7 separate regions of the Homo sapiens genome follow, and all the other regions are linked to region 5. The links are contacts of gene promoters, found by promoter capture Hi-C in blood cells and fetal thymus (Javierre and others, 2016). All regions are on one chromosome and are shown on one strand. The core of a region is centred on a gene start or on the middle of the fragment in contact, and the rest is flanking DNA. Distances in the headings are between cores, read along the strand shown. Region 1 overlaps WASF3 (WASP family member 3). Region 2 overlaps LOC107984597 (a long non-coding RNA gene). Region 3 has its middle 53 kb from the start of WASF3. Region 4 overlaps WASF3 (WASP family member 3). Region 5 holds the start of RNF6 (ring finger protein 6). Region 6 overlaps WASF3 (WASP family member 3). Region 7 overlaps WASF3 (WASP family member 3).

The links. Contacts are between HindIII fragments. The CHiCAGO score rates a contact against its expected background, and 5 or more counts as called.
Region 1: a fragment that was not itself captured here is called in contact with the fragment with the promoter of RNF6 in region 5 in 1 of 17 cell types (megakaryocytes); the score reaches 6.3 in megakaryocytes.
Region 2: a fragment that was not itself captured here is called in contact with the fragment with the promoter of RNF6 in region 5 in 2 of 17 cell types (endothelial precursors and megakaryocytes); the score reaches 8.6 in endothelial precursors.
Region 3: a contact is called between a fragment that was not itself captured here and the fragment with the promoter of RNF6 in region 5, in 4 of 17 cell types (endothelial precursors, naive CD8 T cells, total CD8 T cells and 1 more). The highest score is 7.1, in endothelial precursors.
Region 4: a fragment that was not itself captured here is called in contact with the fragment with the promoter of RNF6 in region 5 in 1 of 17 cell types (megakaryocytes); the score reaches 5.0 in megakaryocytes.
Region 6: a contact is called between a fragment that was not itself captured here and the fragment with the promoter of RNF6 in region 5, in 1 of 17 cell types (megakaryocytes). The highest score is 5.3, in megakaryocytes.
Region 7: a contact is called between a fragment that was not itself captured here and the fragment with the promoter of RNF6 in region 5, in 1 of 17 cell types (megakaryocytes). The highest score is 5.1, in megakaryocytes.

Annotation. Positions count from the first base shown.
Region 1 is chr13:26,640,783-26,643,657 of GRCh38, forward strand. It overlaps WASF3 (WASP family member 3), which reads left to right. Exons shown (of 10, transcript NM_006646.6): 3 at 1,479-1,621. The coding sequence starts at 1,489. Among named protein-coding and RNA genes, the nearest start is that of WASF3, 85 kb to the left of the region's middle. The HindIII fragment of the contact is 1,185 bases long and covers 705-1,889 here.
Region 2 is chr13:26,692,893-26,695,699 of GRCh38, forward strand. The region is part of intron 1 of LOC107984597 (a long non-coding RNA gene); the gene reads right to left. Among named protein-coding and RNA genes, the nearest start is that of GPR12, 66 kb to the right of the region's middle. RefSeq lists an enhancer at 2,778-2,807. The HindIII fragment of the contact is 2,846 bases long and covers 1-2,807 here.
Region 3 is chr13:26,502,953-26,505,838 of GRCh38, forward strand. No RefSeq gene overlaps it. Among named protein-coding and RNA genes, the nearest start is that of WASF3, 53 kb to the right of the region's middle. The HindIII fragment of the contact is 1,125 bases long and covers 787-1,911 here.
Region 4 is chr13:26,602,350-26,605,293 of GRCh38, forward strand. The region is part of intron 1 of WASF3 (WASP family member 3); the gene reads left to right. Among named protein-coding and RNA genes, the nearest start is that of WASF3, 46 kb to the left of the region's middle. The HindIII fragment of the contact is 4,088 bases long and covers 1-2,944 here.
Region 5 is chr13:26,220,973-26,223,672 of GRCh38, forward strand. RNF6 (ring finger protein 6) reads right to left here and starts at 1,342. Exons shown (of 5, transcript NM_005977.4): 1 at 1,031-1,342; 2 at 276-358. RefSeq lists enhancers at 114-995, 996-1,877, 1,023-1,402 and a silencer at 523-572. The HindIII fragment of the contact is 7,611 bases long and covers 1-2,700 here.
Region 6 is chr13:26,623,085-26,625,784 of GRCh38, forward strand. The region is part of intron 2 of WASF3 (WASP family member 3); the gene reads left to right. Among named protein-coding and RNA genes, the nearest start is that of WASF3, 67 kb to the left of the region's middle. The HindIII fragment of the contact is 2,222 bases long and covers 154-2,375 here.
Region 7 is chr13:26,558,462-26,561,411 of GRCh38, forward strand. The region is part of intron 1 of WASF3 (WASP family member 3); the gene reads left to right. Among named protein-coding and RNA genes, the nearest start is that of WASF3, 2.3 kb to the left of the region's middle. The HindIII fragment of the contact is 1,995 bases long and covers 458-2,452 here.

The DNA of each region.
Region 1 (2,875 bases), core at 47-2,546, 420 kb after region 5:
ATCCTTGACTCTTATTTAAGTCTGAGGCACTAAAAGCTGGTGCACTCTGGGTGCTTGGGGAGATTTTGACAGGTGTTACTGCCTGGGTGGCAGTTTCAGCAGGGGAAAGCCTCCCTCCCCAGTGTTCATATTTGTAGATCTTTTCTCTTCAAACATTCCCCAGGAAGGAATGCTCCAGTGTTTTTGGATGGGAGTAAAAGCCAGGCTGCCTGTGTTCTAGGAGCCAAGTGGAACAAGAGGTTGGGGAGCTGTCTCACCAGTCATTGTAGACTTTGATTTAGTATTCCTGTTTCCAGTACATTTCCTCCCCTACCTTTAGCTATGCCTAGAGTCCCAAGTTCAAATTCTTTAATTTACCTTTCTTTTCCAGAGAGTAAAACATCCTGGGTTGGGTGGAGGAAGACAGCCCAGGAAGGGAGAAGGCATTCTTAAAAGGAGTTTTAAAAGCCACCCCACCTGTTTTATCTCCCCTCAATTCCCGTTTCGCACTTACCTGGTGCCTCCTACTCCTGAGCCTTTTGTAGGGAGGGAGAAGGTTCTGTGGCTCAGGTGGGCTTACTTGCTTGGGTTGGTAAATGGGGACATTGACCTGCTGCCCCCAGTTAGCAGCCTAGGTGTACCAAAATGCCAGAGGTTTGTCTAGGTCCAGTTGCGTGCCACACAGAAAGCCAATCACTGAGACAATGAGTGTTGCTAGGGAAGAAAGCTTTGATTGGGTGCTATAGCTCAGGAGATGGAGATAAGCCTCAAATCCATCCTCCTGACCTACTAAAATTAGGGGTTTATGTAGCAGGAAGAAAGGTAACTATATGTGAGAAAACAGGAATTAGGGAGAGATAAGGAAGAGGAGTTGGTCAACAGGGAACAGGTGGTCTTAAGCAGTCATGATGGGTGAGGAGTCTGACTTCTCATGGTCCAGATGAGATGATCTAGTAAGTTTTAGTTTTTTAATACTACCTGGAAGGCCGGATGGATGGTTGCCTGAGAAAGCAATTCAGATAAGACAAATGTAACTTGCTCAGGCTTCAAGACTCGGAGGGTCAATTTCTACGTTTATTCAAAGAAACCATAAACACCAGTTCTGTGGGACAACTGGGGTGATGTCATAATGGTGGCCTTTCCTGTCTCTTAATCTGGTTAAGTGGTCTTCAGGTTTGTGGCTTGTGTCTCCTCTCTTGCTCTTGATACATGTGGACTTTTTGCCTTTCCTCTCTCTCCTCATTTCAGTGAAGAGAGAAGTCAGAAATATGGAATATATTATTTTTCTATGAAGTGAGATTATACTATACATGTACCTTCAGGCTCTATAAAACTCACTAAAGTAATTCACTGTTTGTTGCATTTTAGCTGATTCTGTCACATAGAAATTTTAGGATAATGAAAATTCCTGGAAAATAGTCAATTTTCAAGGGAATTAAAATTCCAGATTTGTTAAAATGTGAATATGAGCTTATAAAGAATGTGTTTTCAATTTTCAGATTGTGAACCATGCCTTTAGTGAAGAGGAACATTGAGCCCCGGCACTTGTGCCGGGGAGCTCTGCCTGAAGGGATTACCAGCGAACTTGAATGTGTAACCAATAGTACTCTTGCCGCTATCATACGCCAGCTGAGCAGTCTGAGTAAGCCATCTTTTTTCTGATTACCAATGACATTAACTTTTTGTTAGCAAATTGATTTTAATAGTTAAATGATTGTCCAAAGAAGAGATTGCAGCTTTAAGGAAAAGATCCTTTCTCCTTCTGTATTTCCCAGTATGAAATTGACCACTGCACCTGTACTGGGCTTGTGATGCTTAACTTTAGGCAATGAAGATGTGATGCTCTTACCAACTCACAAATTATTAGATGAGATCAAATGTACAGATTTAAAATAGTGTTAATTTTTAAAAGCTTTTGAAAATGAAGATAATTGGTAATTTTTTAAACTATCAATTATTATGAATTATTTTGTTAAACTTGAATAGGACCAATTGTTTTGTTTTTTAAGTGTAATAGATTGAAAACTAGTTAACACCTGTAATATGCCTGGCACATAGTACCTACTTAATAAATATCTGTTGATTGAATAACATCCCAAATGAACCATAGTATAAAGCCAAACAATAGATTTGCTGATTTTAACCTACTAAAAGTTAAAATGCAGATACTGATTTCTGCATTGAGGTGAACAGATCAGCTGGTTATTTTATGTATATGGTACCACGTATATATTGGCATGCATAGATGTATGGCAAATGCAAGCTAGGAAGAAAAGGCTGCTTCTTATTCTCATTTTGAATATTAATATTAAATATCTGAAGAATATTTTATAAGACTCAAATATGCATGAAAATGCTTTTTCCTTCAAAGCTTTTTGAAGTTGCACTATTTTCCCCCAAACTTTTACATTTATTTTCTGATCTTGTTTTCTCACTTCATCCTGCTCCTTTTCAGTTTAGGTGGTTTATGTGGCATTTTTGGTGACAGGTTTTCACAGTTAAATTTTTCAGAAACTCTGTTAATAACTAGAAAATCTTCCATGAAATGTCCCATATTGGTAGCCTCAAGCGAAGGGCAAATTTTTTTTTAACTCAACTACTTTTATTTATCTTGAAGAAACGCTGCAGGTAAGTATTGGTTTCTTTAATAGAGTTGTACTGTATTGTTACGGATATATTTTTAATAATATCTATAATCATTAGCTAAGGCAAAAGTATGTAAAGAAATTACATAAAATGTTTTTTAAAATAAAATTTTCCTGGAATCTAAGCTCTTATGATTGACTTTTGGTAGTGGTAATTGATAAAAATATACAAATTCACATAATTACATGAAGACTGCTTGTAAATTATTGAAGGGTAAAATTGTTTTTGCGTGTATTTATTTTTGTAGGAA
Region 2 (2,807 bases), core at 149-2,648, 470 kb after region 5:
TTTGGAGGTGTGGGTAACTTGTAGAGGTGTCCCAACAGGGAACTAGATGAGAAGGAGATTTGCTTCCCGAGTATACTTTCTTCCCGGGCCTGGCACCTGGACATTGATTTGCCAAAACACGTGAGCACTGTCCTGTGGATATCTGTACGTGCGATCTTTTAATTGCCCCACTGCATTTGCCCTGTGTACTTGTGATGTGAGTAATTAGCTTTAAATACAGCACCATGATTAGTTAGAGGTGGTGAATTGGCCGATGATTTACCATGAAGAAAAATTAAGAAAATATGCCATTTAAGAGTAATTTAAAAACCTACCAAGTGGTACTTAACGTGAAGTGACATTTAAAAGCATTTCATATTCGAGGATGTGCGTCAGCTGCTGTGGCCTAAAACCAGTTGAAACAGCAGTTTGACTCTGCAGCTGGCACGTCCTGAACCTGTGAACATGACTTAGCATCCGCATTCAGAAGATGTTTCTTTGCATGTGTGTAGGTGACGGTGGTTTGAAGTGTATCTTCTGAGAGCCACACTTGAAGATCTTGATAATTAAGTTAGGGGAGCAGCTTTCAGCTCCTTGACATGTCTTTTAATATTTCAGAGACCTAGCCAGGCATGGTGGTGGCTCATGCCTGTAACTCCAGCAATTTGGGAGGCCAAGATGGGAGGATCACTTGAGCTCAGGAGTTTGAGACCAGCCTAGGCAACATAGCAAGACCCCATTGCTCCAAAAAGAAAAAGAAATCAGCTGGGCATGGCAGCTCACTCCTGTTGTTCCGGCTACTCAGGAGGCTGAGATGGGAGGATTGCTTGAGCCCAGGGAGTCAAGGCTGCAGTGAACTATGATCGCACCACTGCACTCCAGCCTGGGTGACAGAGTGAGACTGTGTCTCACAAAAAAACAACAAAAATCACACACACACACACACACACACACACACACCAAAAATCAAAGACCTGGGCCTTCATTTGGTTTTCCAATTGGGGAATTTCAGCGACATGCCTTGAGGTCGGGGCAGGAAGCAGCATGGTGATCAGCACTGGATGACTCACCATGAAGGGCCCCAGGTTGCCTCCTCCCAGGGCACCTGGCCACATTTCCATTTGCACAGGTCGCAGTGTTGCTGTGGCTCCAGCAGCCCTGTGTCCCTCCTGTCCCTGGTCTCTGGCTCGCCTTGTCACTGTAAGCCTCCCTCCTCCCTCCACCAGCACGACTTTCCTTGCCAGGCTCCTTCCTCACAGAGGCCGTGGGTCCCTGTGGCCCCCACATCGCCTTGGTTTCTGCTGTCCTTCCCTCTTCCCCCGACAGGTGACCTGTCCTCTCCTGTCTTCCCCTGATGCTTCCAATGCCAACCCGGTCAGATCCTGCCACACTGGGTTTTGGGGGTGCAGAAGCCCACATAAGTTAATAAAGGAGCTGGCCCTCTCTCAGCAGAGATTAGAAGTTGTGTCTGAGCCGAGATGCCCCTGGGCACCAGGAAGGAGTCCCCTTCAGTGCCTTCTCAGCTGAGCCTGGGTTCCTCCCAGGCTCATTCCCACAAGGAACCTTGTGGGATGAGCTCAGAGCCAGGGATTCAGATCTGGCATCAGAAGGGCTTGATTTTCGTGTCATCTGCCCCTGTAGGCGAGGTCAGGCACAGAGGGGTCCCCAGTGAGGGGTTCACACACTGAGTCATGCTAAGCTGGAGGACGGGGGACTCTGGGCTCCACTCACCCGCTCCCCTGGTATGCGTGTTCAAATGCAGATTTCCAGGCCCCATCCCAAACCTACTGCATCAAAACCTTGAGCACAGGACCCAGAATCCACAGTTTACCCGGTAGCCTTCTGGAGTGGTTCTTACTAGGCACGCCAGAGTTAGGCCCTGCCCTTCGTGCTGACCTGGAATGATTGACAGGAGCCCGAAGATGCCACCTGCGATGTTCTGGGCTATTGGACGACTAATGGTGCCTCATGGACTCCAGGGGGACCCAGCGCCCTCTCCATCAGGGGCTGTCCCTTCCTCCGGTGTCTGGTTGGCAGCAGCTGAAACCCTGCCCACAAAGGTGAGCTGGGTTATGACCCAGTCGTTTTCATCTTTGGACCCCAGATGGAAAGATGCAGAGCTGCCATCCTTAACTCCCATGTTCCTCTCGGAGCAGCTCTCCCTGTTCCACAGCCCCTGCTGTCTGCACGCCCCTGAGCTTCCCGCTTGGTCAGATCAACGGTGCTGGCCGCACAAAGCACGTGGGAGCCCACGGTCCTGGCACAGGTCATTCAGGAGCTCCTTCCTATTCAGGGCCTAGGGAGGAGAGGTGGGGGCCTGAGCTTTGCCTGTGGGCTGTCCCCACTGATGTTACTCACTGGATGGCCTTCCCGGGCTGGAGTAGGGAGAGGGTCATAGTCTCTGCTTGGGTCCTTGTGGCAGACACAGGGGCTGGCACACTGCATGCAGGCGGAGAAAGTCAGCATGGCCTCTTCTAGCTTCCCCCCACTGGCTGCCGTGACATCAGCCTGGCACTCTTAGGTGTCTGACATCAGCCTGGCACTCTTACGTGTCCTTGCATGGCCCGTGTCCTGCCCCCTGACTTCTGCCCTAGGCTGTTTGCGTGATGCATCTCCTGCGCTGTCGGGCCAGCCCTCCCTCCTCCTCCAGCAGGCAGTGGAGACCTAAGAGGCGTTGCGCCACAGCAGCAGGACCCCACCCCGTGGCCCCAGCTGGGACAGGCAGCATCAGAGGATGCATTTAGGACAGCAAAGGCCTGCACTGATTTTCTTTGGGTCACACCTTTTACAAAGATGTTTTGCTGGGGGCTGTCTGTGGCTTTCACACT
Region 3 (2,886 bases), core at 99-2,598, 280 kb after region 5:
AGCCCACGTGCAGAGGATCTGGTAGTTGAGTTGACTCAGGGCAAGTCACTGATGAGGAGCTCACTGTGAATCGTGTGAAGCGGTTGCTATAACAGCTACTGCCTGCTAGGGGGTATGAATAAAAGCACGGTTTCTAGAACGCCTGCTGTTTCCTGCACTGGCTGGGTAGCGTGCTGACTTTCCCATCCAGAACTACCCGTTAAGACAGCCAGGAAGTAGATAAGGATGAGACGTCAGGGGTAGCGAGGACTCTGAGAATCACATCACACGGACTGGTTGAAGGAGACGGCACAAGTAGACTGGAAAAAGAAGATGTAGCAATGGCATGCCGGTTGTCCTCAAATATTAGGGAAACTGCAACCTTCTGTTGGCATTAACATCTGATCCCTCCTCACCAAGAAGTCAATATCTTTATCCAGGAGTGACTACAAGAAAGGTCTTTGCCTGGTCGTCTTCTCTATTTGTTGCCCTGGTTCTGCTTCCAATCCTGCGCCAGTTGGCAATGGAGTGCTACCTCCTTTATATCAGGGTTGATTTGCCAATTGTAGACAGAATTCTTCCTTTGTGATTGCTTAAATTGAGATATCAACTGTTAATTTCTCCTCAGTATTTCTATAAATATAGCTATGCTCTTTCTATGCTGCTGCTGCACAGATCCATGCTATGCTAGAATTTTTCACTCATTCGTGCCACAAATATTTGAATGAGCACTTACCACATGCCAGCCCCAACCTAGGCACTGAGATACTACAGTACACAGAGTAGACAAAATCTTTGCCTTCAGGAAGCTTCTGTTCCAGCGAGACAGGCCTAATAAATGTTTTTGAGTGTCTGCAGGGATTTGACTAATTTAATACTCATCCCAACCCACTGGGTAAGTACTGTCATTATCTGCATTTTACAATGAGGAAATGGAGGAACAAAGATGCTGAGCAACTTGTCCCAAGAGACCGACAGAAGGTCCTCCCTCTGCCCCACTAGGCTAGATTTGCCTCACTGGAGTGGGAGCTTCTGGAGGCCCACACGGCACAGACACAGCCTATGCTGTTCTGCTGCAACTGTCTGCTGTCTGGAAATTACTCCTCTCACTCTGCTGCAGTGAGGTGGGAGGTGTTAGAAGGATTGGGGTGTGAAAAGAATGACTTCAAAGTTCAGTACTACTTGAAAAACTGATTACTTCTGAATGACTTTCTGTGTTTCCTTATCCTACAGACGTTCTCAATGTAACATCCTCAGGCTTCCTTGGGCCAACTCACGACAATGCCAGGTACATTTCTTAGAGTAGAGATAACATATTTCTGTTAAAGTAATATATTTTCTTACATGTACCACACTTTGGGAATGTCCTAATCAACTGAGATAACCGCTACATACATTTACCAAAGTGTGTGCCGTGGTCCCAGGGTTTATAGCAGGAGGCACACTGACACTGCTGGAACACAAGGGACTGCTGTCTCCAAAGGCTGGAGCAGATTCTAATATGCGGGATTCAGATGCTGAGTGTTCACAGGTAGTGTAATGTTCATGGCAACTGTTACACTTATTAAATTACTGACTTCCTAAGGGCATGAATCTAATAGGAAACGTTAGATGCCCTGTTAATATTATGTTGCCTGCAAGCATTTGTATTGTTTTCTGATATTTGTTGTTTTCTAAGATTTTGAAAAAAATACTTAATTAGGAAGATAATTTTTTTTCCTGGCTCTAGTGTTAAATTAAGTGGGAAGGTATTCTATTTAGGATCCTCCCATAGAGCTATTTTTCTCTTAAGGGTTACATGCATTCCTTTGTTTTTAAAATTCACTTTAATATTAACGTATTAATTCAGTACTTATTGAGTGCCTGCCATGTGTCAGGTGTTTTTCTGGGCACTAGGAATCAGATAAATAAGGCAGACAAAGCCCCTCATGAAGCTTATACTTGCTGAGAGGGAGATAGCCAATAAAAAGAACACAGTAATTGTATGATACAATGTCAGTTGCTAATAACACTAGGGAGGAAAATAAGCCAGGCTAAGGAGAGAGAAAAGGAAAGGAGAAGGTGGTTTTACATGGGTCAAGAGGCAAAGCATCGCTGAGGAAGTGACCAGGTGCCATGATTTGAGTAATAGCAAGGGAACAAAGGCCACCTCCCCACCCACGTGCTGTGTGACTTGGGCAACTCCCATAATGCTTCTATATTCTCATCACTGAAATGGAGATAATCATAGTACTTATATCATAGGGTTTTTTTTAATTAATTATAGAGTTTTAAAATATTTTTTGAATTATCTTCCTTTCCTTGTCTGCCTACTTTTCTTAAAAACCTATGGTGAGACTGGGCATAGTGGCTCATGCCTATAATCCTAGCACTTTGGGAGGCCAAGGCGGGTGGATCACCTGAGGTCAGGAGTTTGAGACCAGCCTGGCCAACCTGGTGAAATCCCGTCTCTACTAAAAATACAAAAATTAGCCGAGCTTGGTGGCAGGTGCCTGTAATCCCAGCTACTCGGAAATCGGAGGCAGGAGAAATCTCTTGAACCCAGGAGGTTACTGGGAGCTCAGGGGTATATGGAAACTTTCTGTTAAATTTTGCTGTGAACTTAAAACTGCTCTAAGAAATAGTCTATTAATTTTAAAATATTAATTAACTCCCAAGATAAGGAGGGAAATGTCAATTTATTTTTATTTTTATTTTTATTTTTTGTGATGGAGTCTCTCTCTGTTGCCCAGGCTGGAGTGCAGGGGCGTGACCTTGGCTCACTGAAGCCTCCACCTCCTTGGTTTGAGTGATTCTCATGCCCCAGCCTCCTGAGTAGCTGGGATTACAGGTGTGCACCACCACACTCAGCTAATTTTTGTATTTTTAGTAGAGACGAGGTTTCACCATGTTGGCCAGCCTTGTCTC
Region 4 (2,944 bases), core at 59-2,558, 380 kb after region 5:
AGGTGACTGAACTTTTACATTTATTTCTAGGAGGTCATTTTTTCCTTGTTTTTGTTCGTTTGTATCTTCTCTCATAAATTGTAGTATTCTTGTGGCATGATGGTGGGCCATTTAGTTCCCTGATTACTTTAGATATAGTGAGTTAGGTTTTGACTAGAGGCTCAGGAGCTTTGAATGTAGACATGTTGTAAAAATGGTACTGCTGTGTTTGTCAGTTTTGTTTGAACACATAGGATCCCCTGTGGGTACAGGTTTATGAATCTCTTTGTTATAGTGGCCACTATTATACTTTATCCTCAGAGAGAGAAAAAGAAAAACTGAAGTTATTTGTTGAATTGCACATGAAATCTTTATGTCAGGTTTAGTATTATAGAGGTAATTTTGAAATATAGTTTGATTTTGGAGTATTTAAAAATTGTCATGGTAATAATGAAAAAAATACCTCTGCAATGCAGTATTTACATCTTGCTATTTCTATTTGATAATGTACAGATTTTCTGTATATTTCGTGCACTTATGTCATGATTTTCATTATTTTCTTTGTCCAAATGTAAGACTCAACACATTTAATGAAACTAAGTGGAAATCCTGATCTGGTTATGATCTAACCCGTTGGTATCCAACAGATTGCTGACTGTGTAGTATTTTAGCCCAGGATATTTGTCACCTGATTTTTAAGTCTGAGCTTGAAGAGGAAGGCGATAAGGGCCCATGGGGAGGTAAGAGTAACTGCTGTTGGTACCTCTGTTAAATTTGTCTTTCTCCTGAAATAGCTGTGGAAGTGTGGAGCTGCAGGTATAAGCTGAAGGTAAAAAAGACAGCACTATTCTTCTTCTGGCCAGTTGTAGAAAGCTCAGCAGCTTCTTGTGTCGGGGCCTGGGTGGTACCTTTTGTAGGGGTTGGACTGTAGTTAATGTGAGGACAGATTAGAAAATCTGGTTTCAGAGAGCAAGGTGAGGCTGGAAGTTAAAGGTGTTCCAGCACCTGAACAGGAACCAGGTGAATATTCAGGAATCAAGGTAGGTCAAATCAAGGAAATAAAAACACAAATAACTAGTTGTTTGGTTGAGCAGGTGCTCAGGAGGCAATAGGAAGTCAGAGACCAGGGATGGGATATAGGCATGGGAGAAAGGCAGAGACTCAAACCAGTAAAGGATATAAAGCAACTTTAAGCACAGTTAAGAAAACCTCTTTTGGGCTGTGTGTGGTGGTTCACACCTATAATCTTGGCATTTGGGAGGCTGAGGCAGGAGGATCACTTGAGGCCAGAGTTTGAGACCAGCCTGGGCAGCACAGTGAGACTCTGTGTCTCTCTACTAAAAATATTTGTAAAAAACTTTAAAAAAGGGAAACCTCTTTTATACTTATTTATGATGGCCTGTGAACAACTTCAAGGATTTTCTGGTTGGAGACAGGATGGTGGGGCCAAAGCTAAGGGTAATGCCCTGGTTTGGTTGCTGAAATTAAGGAAAGAAAGACATTTGTCTACCAGGTGATTCATAGGTGGCATGATAAACAGTAGTTTAATGTATAGAGTTGAGAAGACAAAACACAGGCCTCTGAAGGTAAATCCCAGTGGAAAGTAGCATGTGTTGGGTTTCACACTGGTGATACTCCTAGTGAGTTCTGTTGGAGTTAGGAGGGTGGGGTGATCTAGCTAGGTTGGTGTGGTCCTGCAGCCATAGTGAAGAAGATAGAGTCAGTCATAGAAGGAGTGGAGTTTGGAATAAACCTTGGGACTTAGGTGAGATAGATGTAGGTGAGTGTGTCTTCCACCTGTATTTACTGTGTGATTTTTTTTGGATGAGTCTTCCATTAGACTGTTTCCTAATTTGCAAGATAGTTAAACTAATTCCTACCTTGCAGGTGTCAAGGTTGTAGGGGATTAAATGAGATGATTTATGTGAAAGCCCTTTGTAAATGGCACTGTGGATTCAGATGTAAGTTGTTATTAATAAATTGCCAGTTGCAATGGGGAGCCTGTTGGATAAGAGCTTTAATTCATTCATCATATGTAAATGAGGTGGTACTCTTTGCAATCAAAGCTGTTTAATGAAGGTCATGATTAGGGGGAAAGAGTCAGGCGGCTGTTTTTAAGTAAGGTTGGTGTATGCCTGAGATTTCACTTATAAACTTATAAATACATAATTAGTATTGAAAATTACTGTTTAATGTGCATCCGAAGTGCTTTGCATTTTTTTGGTTGATAAAAATAAATGTATTTGAAGAGTAAGTTACTGAACTATAAAAAAAAGAAGGAGTCCATTTAGTAGCAAAATTACACGATGCTTCTCATTCTACATTCTGAAATAGGCTATTTTTAGCATCTCTTTGAATCAGGGATGAATTCTAGTTATAGGGTTCAGTAATTAAAGCAGAGAAAAATACAAAGTAGTTTGGGCAAGAAAATCTTTTTACTTGGGTTGGATTTGTTTCAAGGTTTAAACTGTCATCTCAAGGGCCTCCCTGGAAGCCACTGTTTTTGTAATCTTTGTGGGGTCAAGAGCAACAGAAAGTGCCAAAAGATCAGCCAAGGACACAGTGTCCCACTTTTTTAGAACAGGGGAGTTTTAAAACTTCTGGAATCCTGGTATTTCATAACTGGTGATCTTGTATCTGTGTTCTCTGCACAATCCTGGACAGAGGCGCCAGGGTCCTTTGGTCTCTCCCTGTCTTTCCTGTCCTCAGGCCCTTCCTTCTGGTCAGTGCTTCCACCCTCAGGACCTCTGCCCCTCTGTCCAGCTGCCCTGCTGGCCCCTGGTTTTCCTCCAGTTCTCAGTCTGCCTTTGAGTATTGCTAAAGAAAACTGCTTAATGATGCCCTTGGTACCAGTCCACATTTGTATTTAATGATGGTAGATTATTCAGAATGTTGCTGAATAGCTTCTTTACTTGGTTCTAGTCAGCAGTCTTTGCTCAAGCTGGAAGCCTTGTTTTATCATGAG
Region 5 (2,700 bases), core at 92-2,591:
TATTATGTCATTTTGAACAAATGACCTAGTAACATTATCCACTCAAATATGAATTAACACTACTAAAAACTCAAGATCTCTATCTTCAGATTAAGACCATAATTAGCAAAGAGCATATTTCGTAGGTACAGCAATAATAGGATTTTTGTAATAAATAATTTTACAAGTTGAAGCCTATCATAAAATCAAGTTACCCTAATATTATTTAAAACTTGAGCTTCTCCTTAAAGGTAATTTTCTTATACAGTTAATCACAATGAAAACAAAGCGAATACCTTATTTTCCTTTCAACACGCTTTTAACATATGCCATGGTATCCATCCTTCAATTGTTTGTGCCTTTTTTGAGAGCTGCCCATCTGAAGCAATAAAAGAGAGTTGAATAATTCAATAAACTGTTTCTTTAAAGGCCAGGAACGGGTGGTAGTCTCCCCACTCTGCTGCAAAGCCAAAGCAAATTCTCCAGTGGATTTTGTTAGACACATCTAGAAAATTAGATCCCCATACAATTAGGTCACGAAAACCTCCCGCAAGGCCCCTACCTTCCGCAACAAACTTAGGCCTTTCGTCCTACACTGTCACTGTTCCTGGGTTTACGCCTCCTCTCTCAAAGGCCTTCCTTCCTATCCCGTTCCCATTCGGATGTTACCAGGGTTAGGCGTCTCCGGCTTACTTCTAAACCTTGACTTTCTTGCCACCCCCGCCCTCCGTCCCGCTACTGGTTTCTTTCCCGGCCGTTGCGACGGAAGCTCGCGCCGGGGGACGATCCCCACTACGATAAATAAAGTGGGCTCAAGAGGCCCAACCAACCTCTTCCCAACCGAGCCTCAAGTAACGCTTCCCTTAGAGACCTAGATTCTCACAAGGAAGCAGGTGATAGACGGTGCATCCCAACCAATCACCAGCCAGCGGAGCGCAATAAGAAGGCAGTTAACCAATCGGAGAAGAGATGGGTGGCTCGAAGGATGGCCTGCTTTCCCCGGCGTCTCCAGGAAGTAGTGGTGGGACCCAGATCTTTCCCTCGAGCCCACCTCTCCAGGTCTTGGGCCTTCGCCCTCCTGTCCGGAGAACGTGTGCTGTGGGCGGCCGTTCTCTCGGGTGCTGGAGGCTGTGGTTGGGAGGCGGGATAGGCTTGCCGCCGCGCCTCCGGAGCCCGCTGTGCCCTCGAATTGGCCACTGAGGAGAGAAGCCGGAAGCCCGTGCTGCAGCGTGGGGTCGTCCAGCTGGAGGGGATACTCGGGAGGAAGAACGGCAGGCCCCAGCCCTTCTTTCCCGACAGCCACGCCGCCCACTTGGCGGCGGGGAGTCGCTCCGCAGCCGGCCCGGAGCTCGCCCGTGCAACTGAAAACTGCGTCCGTCGGGAGCTAGGGTGCCTGGCGTCCCGCGTTCCGCCCTCTTGCGCCGCCCTTACAGTGCCTCCTCCTCGAGGCCAAATGCCCGGCCGCTCAGCGCTCGTGGCAGCCGCGTAGTTGCAGAGACACGGTCTGCTTTCCAGGCTTGGGAAGTCCCAGCACTTAACTCTGCGCGTCGGTGTCGCTCGTTTGCCAGCCAGACTATAAAGTGCACCCAACGGTGTATGCGTCTCTTTACTTCCGGGTGTAACGTACTACCCAGCCAGGCCCTTTCCCTTGCTGTGCTTTGGAACCTGGAAATTACAAACCCTAATAAATTCTGAAGTCTGTCTGTCTGTCTATCTCTATTTGAGACAAGGTCTCATCCTGTCGCCCAGGCTAGAGCGATCGTAGCTCACTGCAGCCTCCAGCGATCCTCCCTCCTCATCCCAGTAGCTGGAACTACAGGCGCTTGCCATTAATTTCACATTTTTTCTTTTGTAGAGACGGGGGTCTCGCTATGTTGCCCAGGCTGGTTTCGTACTCGGCCTCAAGCAATCCTCTCACCTCAGCAAAATGGGATTACAGGCATGAGGCACCGCACCCCACTATATTTTGTGTTTTTTCACCTTCCCGCTAGGAAAGCAGTTTGAAACTCCCAACATTCCTCCCTCTGATTTTATTTCTGAGATGTGAGGCTTACTAAACTTACCTCACCGTTAGTTAAGATGCTGAGTAGGTCTCTGTCTAACCTGGTATAGTCCCCTTTCCTGACATCCCTACCATCTGATGACTTCATCACTGGAGAGTGCTCACAATGCCGTTACTTGTTATTCTTCCGTTTGTTCTTTCATTTCTGCATTAACTTTTGAGGAACTACCATATCCCCATTATTATGCTGGGCACCTGGATAACAAGCTACATGCAGTCCTTAGCATCAATGAGCTACCAGTGTAGTAAGGATCTATGGACAAGTGTTTAAAATAAGCATATGGATATGGATACTAAAATGGAAATATATAAAACAGCCTAGAAAGCCCTTCCAGATCTTTCTTCTGCTTACATTTACAGGCTGTTGTCTTGGCACTCCGAAACTGCTTGAAGTTCCGCCACAAGATATGGGAACTCCTAAGCAACCCCCAACTCCACTTTTACCTAATTTCCTCTGTCTCCCAAAACTCAGCTCAGTTCTCATCTTTAAGGAATTTTTCCTGATACCTCTGAAATAACACCCTTACCTCACCCTCCAGCCCGATATTTACACATAAAACTAAGCAAATGTCCCTTTTGGGGGCTCCCATACTCCCTCTATATATAAAACCCTATTTTAGCATGTATTCATGTATTTAACAAATAGTGAGTGTGACTAT
Region 6 (2,700 bases), core at 15-2,514, 400 kb after region 5:
TAAGAAGAATTCAGCAAAAATTGTAATGCATTCTTAAGGTTGAGTATGGGCTAATGCATCAGTTTAGGATAACCAGGTACCCCAGATACAAGGGGAAGGTTACACTTACTCATAAGCTGTTTTCTACAGCCCTCCACTGGGTACTCTTAAGAAAGCTTATGAGCAAGCCTGGAGACTAGACAGAACCTCTTTTGATCGTGCTGCTCTGCGGGAGGTAATCTCAGCTGCCACTGGGAGACAGGCATGATGTAACACCTGCTTCCCCACAGCCTTCTCTCCTATGACAGAGTTCCCAGGAGGGCAATGAAACCTCTAGCCCATAGGACTCAGCAAAGATCTATTTCTGGCAGAGGTTTAGGAAACCCTCTTTCCTGCCCTGTGACCAGCAAGATCCTCTGCTTCTGGGACGAAGGGTAATTAATAGCAAAAGCAGGACAGACTCTTAGGCTCATAATCTTTCACTGATGCAAAGCAAAGTTCTCTTTCTGCTGCATGAGGGACAGGAACTCTTTCATGCCCAAGACAGGGACAAATATCAGGCAGAGTTTAGTTGTGTTGGAGAAGAGATGCACAGATCCTGAGAAGGCCCCACTCTGAGGTCCAGGTATATGGATCATTCCTAAAATTTAGGCTGGGCCAGGGAGAGCAAGGAGCCTAGCACCTGGTAACGTAGCAATAACAGTCATCTCTGGAGAGCAAGAATGTAAAGAGGAATTTGTGTCACCTTTGTGACATAAATGTCAAGGAACTACAGGATGATCAGGAACACTGAAAAAAGTCTAGCACACTAGGCACAAGACAGCAGCCCATGGCTAGGGGATTTTGATGCTTGGTGTATCAGATAACAATAGCAGCCATCTCCCTCAAACCCTGACTAGGTTGACTCAATCAACCTTAGTAATGGCTTGCTAGAAGAACATGTGAATTCATTGCTGGACAAGAAATACTGTTTACTTAGTCTCTACTGCTTTGCAAATGATATCCAGCATTCAGCACAAAATTATGAGACAAAAAAGGCAAGAAAGAATGACGTGTTGTAAATCAAGAGATAAAGCAATCAGCAATCAATGGAAACAGACTCAGAGATAACTTAGATATGGGAACTTAAAAATAACTGTGATTAATGTATTGAAAAATGTATTGAGAAAAGTCTATATCAACAGAAATAAGGAAACAAGTTTTTAAGAGTTAAATGGAAACTGTTGGAAATGTAAAAACAAATTGGGTTTATTAGCAAACTGGATGTAGCTGAGAAAATAATGAAAGCTAAATCAGCAGAATATAAAAAGGAACAGTGAAACAAAAGAAGAAACAAGGAAAGAGGAAAGTGGAGTGGGGAAGGGGAGGGATGACAAAACCGAGCATCTAAGAACTATGGAACAGTATCAGTAGTCTAACACACATGTAATTGGAAACCCAGAAGGAAAAGAGAAGATACTGTCCAGAAAAAAATACTAGAAGGCACAGTTGCTGAGAATTATCCCAAATTAATGAAAGACAGGAAACAACTAATAAGACAAACAGATCCAAGAATCTCAGAGAACCCCAAGCAGGATTTTTTTTTTTAAGAACCCTCCAAGTTCTAGAAACACTGGAATCAAGTTGCTGAAATACCCAAGGTAAAGGGGAAAGTCTTGCAGGCAGCCATAGTTTAAAGAAAATGAAACATTACAAACAGAGGAACAAGGGTAAGAATAACAGCAGACTTCTTGTCAGAGACTATGAAAGTCATTAAGACAGTGAAATAACATTTTTAAAGTATCAAGAGAAAAAGCTCAAATCCTGTCGATGCATAATTCTATACCCAGCAAAAATATATTTTTAAATTAAAGGCCAAATAAAGAATGTTTCAGACAAACAAAAGCTGAGGGAATTTATTGCCACAGATCTGCACTGTAAGAAATGAAAGGAAGTTCTTGGGCAGAAGGGGCATCAGATGGCGGTTGGGATCTAAACAAAGAAATGAAGAGACCCTGAAATGGTAAAAGAGAATAAATATGTTATATTTTTTCTTATTTTTAATTACATTAATTGATAATTGTCCAGAGCAAAAACAATAGTAATGTGGGGTTTATAAGAGGTAAAATATATGACAACATTGGACAAAGCATGGAAGAAGAAAATGGAAATATACTGTTTATATTAGGGGGTCTCCAGAGAAATAGAACATATAGGATATATAGATTTATGAGGAGATTTATTATGGAATTTGGCTCACACAATTATGGAGGCTGAGAAGTCCCACAATCTGCTGTCTACAAACTGGGGACCCAGGAAAGCCAGTGGTGTAATTCATTGTGCCTAGCTGATGGTATAACTCCCAGTCCATTGCCAAAGACTCGAGGACCTGGGATTGGGAAGGTGGTGCAGGTGTAAGCTTTGGAGTCTGAAAGCCTGAGAACCAGGAGCTCCAATGTCTGAGGGCAGGAGAAGATGGATGTCCCAACTTAAGAAGAGAGAGAGAGAGAGAAAATTCATCCTTCCTCCACTCTTTTGTTCTGTTCAGGTTCTCAGTGGATTGGATGATGCCCACCCACCTTGGTGAGGGTGGATCTTTTTTTACTCAGTCCACTGATTCTAGTGCTGATGTCTTTCAGAAGCACCCTCTCACAGACTCACCCAGAGATAATGTTTCAGCAGCTCTGGGTATCTCCTAGCCCAGTCAGCTTGACACATAAAATGAACCATTACATTATTCTA
Region 7 (2,950 bases), core at 205-2,704, 340 kb after region 5:
CGGGGGACCGCGCGCACGGAGCCGCGGCGCGCGGGGTATCATCCCCGGGGGTCTTTACCCGCGCGCCTGGGCTTTAGCGAGGGCAGAAGCTTCCTCTCAGTTTGTGGTGCTGACGTGCAATGGCGATTGCTTCTTGATTTGGCCCCTCTGCAAGGGAGAGTTCCCTGGTGGAGACGAGAGTTCTTAATTATTCAGAAACTATGTGATGGGCTTAGGGATCAATGGGAGCATCATAGGAATTCTTTCTCATTTTAAGGTTAATTTTTAAATTAGCGGTTTACTTCCAGCAACAGTCTCGAGTTTTCAAAAACTGAAAATTAAAAAGACTACTTTTCGCAGTTCTTCAAATTAAATGCATAGCAGAACATGGTATTTTAAGATTCAGAGTCTACTTTTTATAAGGGGGAGAGGATAGCTATTTGAAATATTTTGCATCTTAAAAATTAGGTTTATCTAAAGCTTAAAATGCGACTCTATCAAAACTAAGTTCAAAGTATTGTAATTGACTAATCTTTCTATTGTCTCTAGGGCAAATTCTATTGCTTCTTTTTATATGTGCTTTACCCAACTCTCCTTTTCTAGCAGTTAAACAATGCAGTGGTTCTTTAAAGCTAGTTCTTTTATCTGCTTGAGAGGTTAAACAAACGAAAGCTGGGTTTGACCTTTCCCAAAGGCATTCTCATTGTGTCCTCTCCAGCTCCCTTCTCCCAGGGTTCTAATGACTTCAGTGTAGTACTCATTTTTCTTCATCTTGAAAGATTTTCTTAGTTGGTATTCACAAAAGCTGTGTCTTTTCACATGTTTAAATATTGGAAAGTTTGGTCAACTATTATATTTACCTTCCAACCTGTGCTTATTCTAGAACTATGTACATATAGAAATTGTTCTTGCATTTCCAGTTGGCTGACATGAAGTTGCTTAATAGCATTTGTTTTTAAAAAATCTGTTTGCTTTAAAATTTACAACCTAATAGTCAATGATGTGCTTCACTATCTTCAACAATTACGAAAACAAAGGTGGAACACACTTTGCTAAGTGGTCATGCCAACATTGTAACCTCCTATCTCTTGTCAGTGTGTCTTTGTAGTCACACGTTACGGTTCCCATAGAAACCTATGTATGGCAGGTAACCTTTTGGTTATTGGGATGTTTTGATTAAAACAATTGCGTTATAATGCAAGTATTAAATGAATTGTCCCTACTCACGGGCTAGTACTAGTGATCGTCTTTGGAATTCCAAGGACTTTCTTTGAAGAGTACTCCCAGATTGTTTTTCACTTTGGGTGGCTCTCCATTGCTGTAGACCTTGAATCTCTTTTTCTTTTCTTTTCTTTCTTTCTTTCTTTCTTTTTTTTTTTTTTTTTTTTTTTTTTGAGACGGAGTCTTGCTCTTGTCTCCCAGACTGGAGTGCAGTGGTGTGATCTCGGCTCACTGCAACCTCCGCCTCCTGGGTTCAAGCGATTCTCCTGCCTCAGACTCCCGAGTAGCTGGGAGTACAGGCGCCCGCCACCATGCCCGGCTAATTTTTGTACTTTTAGTAGAGATGCAGTTTCACCATGTTGGACAGATTGGTCTCGAACTCCTGACCTCAGGTTGATCCGCCCACCTCGGCCTCCCAAAATGCTGGGATTACAGGCGTGAGCCACCGCTCCCGGCCGAATCTCTCAACTTCTCTTCTCAGTCCGTTTTAAGGGCCCTGTTTCTTTCAAGTCAGGCTTTTTTTGGCTTTGCTCTTGGGCATGTGGAACTAAATGCTTCTGACAGCCCCACACATTCTTCTTCAGGGCTGGTTCTTTACCTGTGGCTTGACTTTATGCTGGTAATACAGAAATATTTTATGCCAGTAATACATAAATGATGTACATTATAAAATAAACAATATCAACACAGAGATTTATAGAGGTAAAAAGTCTTAAGTTTTCTTTTTCCCGTCTTATTGTTGTCCTATTCCTATTTCTTTCTTCAGAGGTAACCATAATATAGGGTGTATCCTTCTGGATTTTTTCCATTTAATACTGTAGATGAAATATATAACCCTGTATGTTAAAAAAACCATTTCATGAATGCCTACTAGGTACCAGGTACTATTTTAATCACTAGGGTTGCAAAAATAAGAGACAGACGCTTTCAAGATGTTCATAGTCTACCAGGACAAGCAATTACAGTGCAGTGTGATAAGTACCATGATAGAGTCAGTAATCAGTGAGGGATGTAGGAGCCTCATGCATGACCTAATCCATTCATTCATTTGCTTTATTCATTCAGTACACTTCAGAGTTTTAATATGTGCCGGGGATACAGAGATAAACAAGACAGATACCTCTGTCAGCCCCCGATGAGCTTGCTGTGCAGTTCAGTCTCAAAGAGTTTTAACCGTTGGTTACAATGTATTGTTTGATATGGGATCTGAAAGGGGCCAGCAACAAGAGCTCAGAGGAGGACCATAAACCCAAGCTTAGGGACGTTCAGAGAGACAGGAAAGCCTCCCAGAGGAAGCACCATGAGAAGGAATTGGTCGAAGTCTGGGTTGAGGAGAGGGTGTACAGAGAGATGGTCAGGGAGGTGATGCACTGGAGCAACCACAAACACCAGGAGTTCAGTCCAGTGGGGGTGGTTGTGGGCAAGGGCAGGGAAGTGGCAAGAAGTGAGGGAGGAGAAGTAAGGAGGGACTGTGCCTTGTGGGGTCTTGTGATTACTGTTGTGTGGAGTTCGGAGACCTCTGTGGGCAACAGGAAATGGTTGAAGAATTGTAAGCAAAAGAGGGACACGGTCAAATTTGCCCTTTGGAGAATGGATTAGAAGAGGGAAGGCTTGAAGCAGGGAAATTTGAGGAGGTAGAATTGCTGGGATTTGGTCATTGGCCGTGTGTGTGTATGTGGTGGGGGGAGTTGGGGCAGGGAGGAGTTCAGGGCAGTGTCCAGCTCTGGCTGGGTGGTTGGGTGATGGCACT